2 separate regions of the Homo sapiens genome follow, and region 1 is linked to region 2. The links are contacts of gene promoters, found by promoter capture Hi-C in blood cells and fetal thymus (Javierre and others, 2016). All regions are on one chromosome and are shown on one strand. Each heading gives the region's core, a stretch centred on a gene start or on the middle of the fragment in contact. The rest is flanking DNA. Distances are from core to core; before and after follow the strand shown.

Region 1 (3,166 bases), core at 611-3,110, 1.0 Mb before region 2:
GATGATATACCAATGAATAATAAGCATATAAAAAGTTGCTCCATACCATTAGCTGTTGCAGAAATGCAAGTTTAAGCCACAATGAGATGCCATGACACACTTAATAGAATGGTTAGATAGAAAAGGCCAACAATACCTAATGTTAGTAAGGACATGGAGTAACTGTAATCCTCATATATTGATGGTAGGAATGTAAAATTGTGCAGCCACTTTTGAAAACAATTGGGCAGTTTTTTAAGTTATGCACCAAATATCCAGCAATTCCACTCATAAGTATTTAATCAAGATTCAAATGCAGGATATATCAGGGCAAAGACATATATCCAATTGCTCAAAGCAGCATTATTCATAACAGCCAAAAAAAGTGGACAATCCAAATTCAAATTCATCTAAATCCATCAATTAGTGAATGGGTAAACAAAATGTGGTGTATACATAAAGCAATAAAAACGAATAAACTATACATACTTAAAACAACATAGATCAGCCGGGCATGGTGGCTCATGCCTGTAATCCCAGCACTTTGGGAGGCCGAGGCGGACGGATCATGAGCTCAGGAAATCAAGACCATACTGGCCAACATGGTGAAATCTCATGTCTACTAAAAATACAAAAATTAGCTGGGTGTGGTGGCACGCGCCTGTAGTCCCAGCTACTCGGGAGGCTGAGGCAGGAGAATTGCTTGAACCCGGGAGGCAGAGGCTGCAGTGAGCCGAGATCGTGCCACTGCACTCCAGCCTGGCGACAGAGTGAGACTCCGTCTCAAAAAATAAATAAATAAATGAACAACATAGATTAATCTCAAAAACATTATGTTAAGTGAAAGAAGACAGACATATAAGACTATATATTGTATGATTCCATTTACATGAAATTTCTAGAAAAAGGGAAACAGTAGAGATGGTAACCACATTGGTGGTTGCCTGGAGCTGGAGGTTGGAGTTGGGATTGACTATAAATGGAAATGAGAAAACTTTTGGGAGAGATGGAAGTTTTCTAAAACTGGATTGTAGAGATAATTGTGGCATTATATGAATTTGCTAAAACTCATCGAACTGTACATTTTAAACGGGTGAATTTTAATGTATGTAAATTATACCTCAATAAAGCTGTTAAAAAATAAATAATAAACCATGAAAAAATAAGCAAGAGAAAAGAGGAAACCATGATGCTGTTAGATTGGGGATTATATGGTTTGGATATTTGTCCCCTCCAAGTCTCATGTTGAAATGTGATCCCCAGTGTTGGAGTGGGACCTGGTGCGATGTGTTTGGGTCATGGGGGTGGATCCCTGATGAATGGCTTGGTGCCCGCCTTGCAGTAATAAGTGAGTTCTTGCTCTTAGTTCACATGAGATCTGGTTGTTTAAAAGAGTCTGGCACCTCCCCCTCTCTCTCTTGCTCCCTCTCTTGCCATGTGACACATGGGCTCCCCCTTCGCCTTTCGCCATGATTGGAAGCTTCCTGAGCTCCAAGACAGCACCATGCTTCCTGTACAGCCTGCAAAACTGTGAGCCAAAATAAACCCCTTTTCCTTATAAATTACCCAGACCCCAGACTTAGGCATTTCTTTACAGCAATGCAAAGCAGACTAACACAGGGGGAAAGGATGCTGGACTGGGAGAGAAAAACACTCACATATATTACCCATTTTTACACATTAGGAAAATAAGAAACAATGACTTGCCCTATGTCACCCAGCTAGTAAGTGGGGGAGCCCAGATGCAAACTCCCAACTCTTTGGCCCCAAACGCATGCTCTTAACCCCTCCGCCATGTGATCTTTCTTCCCTTTTGCACAGCCTCTCACCAGTCAGCCCCACTGTATGTAGGGAGACCATGAGGGACTCTTCTCACATTGCTACGTGAGCAGAATCCTCATCTGTCTGACATCTGCTGAAAACACAAGCAAAAGACACTCTGAGGCCTGATGTCTTCCGACGGTTCATTGAAGTTGCAGTTGTTACTTTCCCTTGAACTGTGCAAACGCTTGGTGTGCTCGGGTTGATTTGGTGCTTTTTGTATATTGCTCATCTGGCAGAGAATTACTACTCTGCTCTACAAGTTCCCACAGATGGCTTTATTTTCCATTGCTATTAAATTGGTTTTGAACAAGACATAATTCTTCAAGTGCCTGGTGTGCTCTCTGGGTTTGCTCAGGCAAGATTCCATAAAAATGTAAATAATCGGAACACTTCTGGGATTATTTATCACAACTGACTTGTGGCTGTAAATTTATGTATTAATTTCAGCTATAAGCTTCAGTGGGGAAAAGATGAACCATTGAAAATAGTCTCTTCCACCCTAACATCCTCGCTATGTCCCCATTTCCCCTCTGCTTCCAGGGAACGTACCAGAGAATGGCTCACACATCTGGGTCTGAACGACATTGAACAGGCTCGAAAAGGAACCAGGTGGTAAGTGGGGAATAATCACTCCTCAGCAACCCACAGGCTCATCACTTACTGCTCTCCCCTGGGTCTTCGGACCCCAGTCACACCAGCCTTTCACTTGCTCCTGTGGATTCCTGCCCCAGGACCCTTGCACATGCACCCCAGGCTTGTAATGCTCCTTCTTCCCTTTTATGCCTGGTTCACTCTTACTCATCCTTCAGCTCTTGGCTCAGCGTCACTTGTTTGGAGAAGCTTCATCCCCGCCCACCTGCTAGACGAGGTCTCCTCCCAGGTGTTCTTCTCATCCACAGCGCTACTCACAATCACAGTTCCTCATTTTGGGAGGATTTTTAAAACTTAATGTCTGTCTCCCCTACTTGGCTGTAAAAATTTCATGAGGGTTAGGGCTGTGTCTTTGTCGCCTGCATGCCCAGAGCCTGGCACAGAGTTGAAGATGGATGAATGTGTGCAGAACAAACTAATGGATCCACTTGGAATAAGAGCACATAGCAGGGCTCTTGGGGCCTCTGCCCACACGCACTCAGACCACGCTCTGCACACAGCTCCTTGTGTGCTTTCTCTTAGCCAGCACCTGCATGTTGGCAGAGGGCTGCTCTCACTTTGCCTGTGTGTGCTGAGACTGGAGTGCCTGGGAATTTGCACTCCCCTTGGAGGCCAGCCCTTAACCAATTAGTGGTGAAGGCAGGCTTAGAAGCATGCCAGCTGGCCGGGTGGAATGGCTCATGCCTGTAATCTCAACACTTTGGGAGGCCAA
Region 2 (3,546 bases), core at 838-3,337:
GATCATTGGGGAGTTTTTCTAGGGAAGTTGACTCATTCTTTGCCTTTTCAGAACAATTTCATAAACATTAAGCTCCAGGACCAGAGAGAGATGGAACAGTAGGATGGATACACCGTCCAGCATTTCTTGGACTAGAGATGAAGCCTCTATCAGTCATTTCCAAACCTATGAGCAGGAGATGCCTGGGGGACAAGGGGACTAGGGAAGGTCCTCAAATTCACATACAAACCTGGCACTGACTACAGACACACACACAGAGATGACAGTATATTTAACTTTGGGGGTACTTTTTAGGTGCTATGGTGATACAAAAACTACATACATCTGTTGAAGTGTTAAAACCAGATTGAGGCCGGGCGTGGTGGCACATGCCTGTAATCCCAGCACTTTGGGAGGCCGAGGTGGGCGGATCACGAGGTCAGGAGATCAAGACCATCCTGACTAACACAGTGAAACCCCGTCTCTACTAAAAAAAATACAAAAAAATTAGCTGGGCATGGCAACATGCACCTGTAGTCCCAGCTACTTGGGAGGCTGAGGCAGGAGAATGGTGTGAACCCGGGAGGCGGAGCTTGCAGCGAGCCAAGATCGTGCCACTGCACTCCAGCCTGGGCGACAGAGCGAGACTCTGTCTCAAAAAAAAAAAAAAAAAAAAAAACAAAACAGACTGAGAATAACTTTCTGTTAATGAGAAAATATATCATGAGCAGATGCCAAGGGCACAGACATCATATCATGGTGGGGAGATTTTTCATAATTTTCAGTGGTGCAGATGACGCTCTTCCCATGTCTGGGGAATTGCCTGCCCAGAGTCTGGGAGAGACACAAGGCCTGGGAGCCGCTTTCCTGGCCTGCCGTGCAGCTGAGGCACTGGCACGCAGCCTAAGCCAGGCACACTTGCCCATGCCCTGGAATGGAGAGCCAGTGACCCAGAGTAGTGGGGATGTGAGCTTCTCCTTCTCTGGGGGTGGAGCAATGGCAGTGAGACCAAGGGGCTGGGGCAGTGGTTGAGCGATGCTGACAACAGGGCTGATGGCACCTAGTGTTTGGCAGTGGCAGTAGCATCCTCTTCAGACCTGTTTATGGTGTGATTTGAGGCATTCTTCCTGGCTGTGGACCCCACACAAGATTCACTAGCCCTCCCAGTGACTCTAGGATCTACCTTCAAATGTTTGCATAAATTTCCTTTTAAGTCAGCCTGAGTCTGTTTCTGCTGCTTTACAAAGAAGACCCTTACTGAATCACCACTAAGTGCTGGGGGAGAGGACACAGAGGACAGAGGGCCCACATATTTGTTTCTCAACACATTAAAAGGGGGTCTTTGGGCCAGGCATGGTGGCTCACACCTGTAATCCTAACACTTTGGGAGGCCAAGGCAGGGGGATCGCTTGAGGGCAGGACTAGCCTAGACAACACAGAATCTACAAAAAAAAAAAAAAATTAGCCAGGGGTGGTGGTGCATGCCTGTAGTCCCAGCTACTCAGGAAGCTGAGGCTGCAATGACCTGCAATCTTGCCACTGCATTCCAGCCTGGGTGATAGAGACCCTGTCAAAAAAGGGGGGAAGGCAGGTGTCTTTGGATTCAAAACTGGAGTACAAAAAGTTAATAACAGACAATTTATTTATTCGCTGCATTAGAATGTGTTGTTTACTAACTTTTCTCATCTCTACACAAAGCCACTTCTCCTTCTGCTGTTCTTTGTTCCCAGCAGTTACTGGCCCAGAGTGGCACCCAGAGCAGGTACCCTAGACAGTGACTGAACTGTTCTGAAAAATCCAAGTACGAATTATTTGTCAAACAATACTCCTTCCTGGAAATATGTGCTAGGTGTAAATCAAAATCTCACCCAGAAACATCTAACACCTATGACAACTGTAAAATCCATGGAAAAAAAAAAGATATGCACATTTCTAAATGTGCTCCAGGCCAAAATCTCAATGTTAAATGGTGAAGCCATCCTTGCACAATTTCAAAAAGTTCCTGATTATGGTTCCTTCATAAGAGGTTCCTCTCTTCAGCTCTTCTTCCCTTCTGAAAAAAGAAAGCCAACTTTCCTTTCAAATACACACCCCAACCCGCCCCGGCATACACAGAAATGGGGACTGCGAGCAGAAGCAACATCGCTCGCCATCTGCAAACCAATCTCATTCTATTTTGTGTCGGTAAGGTTCTTTTTCTTCTCCTCCTTCATTTTATTTAAATCAACTGCTATTTTTCACCTAATGCATTTATATTTTAAGCTCCTTCAGATTAATTTTTAAATGTATAACATTATGAAAACTGCCTAAGAGGATAAGTTTCCTTTTTCCCCTGAGAAATAGACAATAAAAAAATAGCTGAGAAAAAGTTTCATATTAACCTTGAAAAGTCTCTTTGCTATTATGCTAATTGGAGACAATCTGACCAAAGGGTTGAAAATATTCTTAAAATCGTAGGTATAAGTTATCAATAATTTAATTATCATACAAACTTGATCTGCACATAGAAAGCAATAAATGATTATTTGCTGAATATTTTCAAAGAACAATTTCTATAAAAGTACTTTTCATTTAAGAAAAAAAAAACTGCCATGACTCCAATAGCCATCCCATAGTATATCTATTTTTAAAATTCTGTCTACTTCTGTTTTTTTATCTATGAAAGAGAAAGGATTTCCAATACATCTAGTAATCTCAGATTTGCCCACACAATTTGGATTATAGGGCAGGGAAGGGGGGAAAGTTCTTAATTTTTTCTCATCTGTGAAGAAATATATCAAAATGTTAATGGGAGTTATTTCAGGCAAAAGGACTATGGGTGACTTTTTGCTTCTACTTTTAATAACCTGTTTTTTGCTAATAAGTATATATTACTTTCATAGACTATTTTAATTAGCATTATTTTAAAGAAGAATTCCTGTCTTTTAGAGATATATTCTGAAAGATGCAGATAAAATGGCTGGGATTTGCTCTAAAATAATATGGGAGTGAGGGAGTAGGTGGGAGGAGAAAAGAAACAAGATTGGGTCGAAGCCATGTGATGGCAGGGGGTTGACTGTACTACTTCGCTACTTTGATATGTTAGAAATTTGAAATCTAATATAATAAAGCTTTGGGCTGGGCGTGGTGGTTCATGCCTGTAATCCCAGCACTTTGGGGGCCAAGGTGAGAGGATCACTTGAGCTCAGGAGTTCAAGACCAGCATGAACAACATAATGAGACCCCCATTTCTACACAAGAAAAAAAAATAGCTGGGCGTGATGGCACCTGCACTGCACCTGCAGTCCCACCCACCTGGGAGGCTGAGGCAGGAGGATCACTTGAGCCCAGGACTTTCAGGCTATAGGGAGCTGTGATTGTGCCACTGCACTCCAGCCTGGGCAACAGAGCAAGACATTTACTTACTTCTTACTTACTAGATAGAGAGACAGCTTTGTTTAAATGTCAAGAATTAGTTCTCTTCCTACTTTCAATATGGCTTTTTTGTTTGTTTGAGACGGAGTCTCGCTCTGTCACCCAGGCTGGAGTGCAGTGGCAAGATCTCGGCTCACTGCAAGCTCCGCCTCC

Evidence for each region. The method cuts DNA at HindIII sites, captures the fragments that hold promoters and counts their contacts. A CHiCAGO score of 5 or more calls a contact.
Region 1: a contact is called between a fragment that was not itself captured here and the fragment with the promoter of IGSF6 in region 2, in 1 of 17 cell types (erythroblasts). The highest score is 5.5, in erythroblasts.

The regions. Positions count from the first base shown.
Region 1 is chr16:22,664,230-22,667,395 of GRCh38, reverse strand. No RefSeq gene overlaps it. Among named protein-coding and RNA genes, the nearest start is that of LINC02890, 52 kb to the right of the region's middle. RefSeq lists an enhancer at 2,559-2,718. The HindIII fragment of the contact is 798 bases long and covers 1,462-2,259 here.
Region 2 is chr16:21,651,149-21,654,694 of GRCh38, reverse strand. IGSF6 (immunoglobulin superfamily member 6) reads left to right here and starts at 2,087. Exons shown (of 6, transcript NM_005849.4): 1 at 2,087-2,163. The coding sequence starts at 2,097. The region is part of intron 4 of METTL9 (methyltransferase 9, His-X-His N1(pi)-histidine); the gene reads right to left. The HindIII fragment of the contact is 3,735 bases long and covers 1-3,091 here.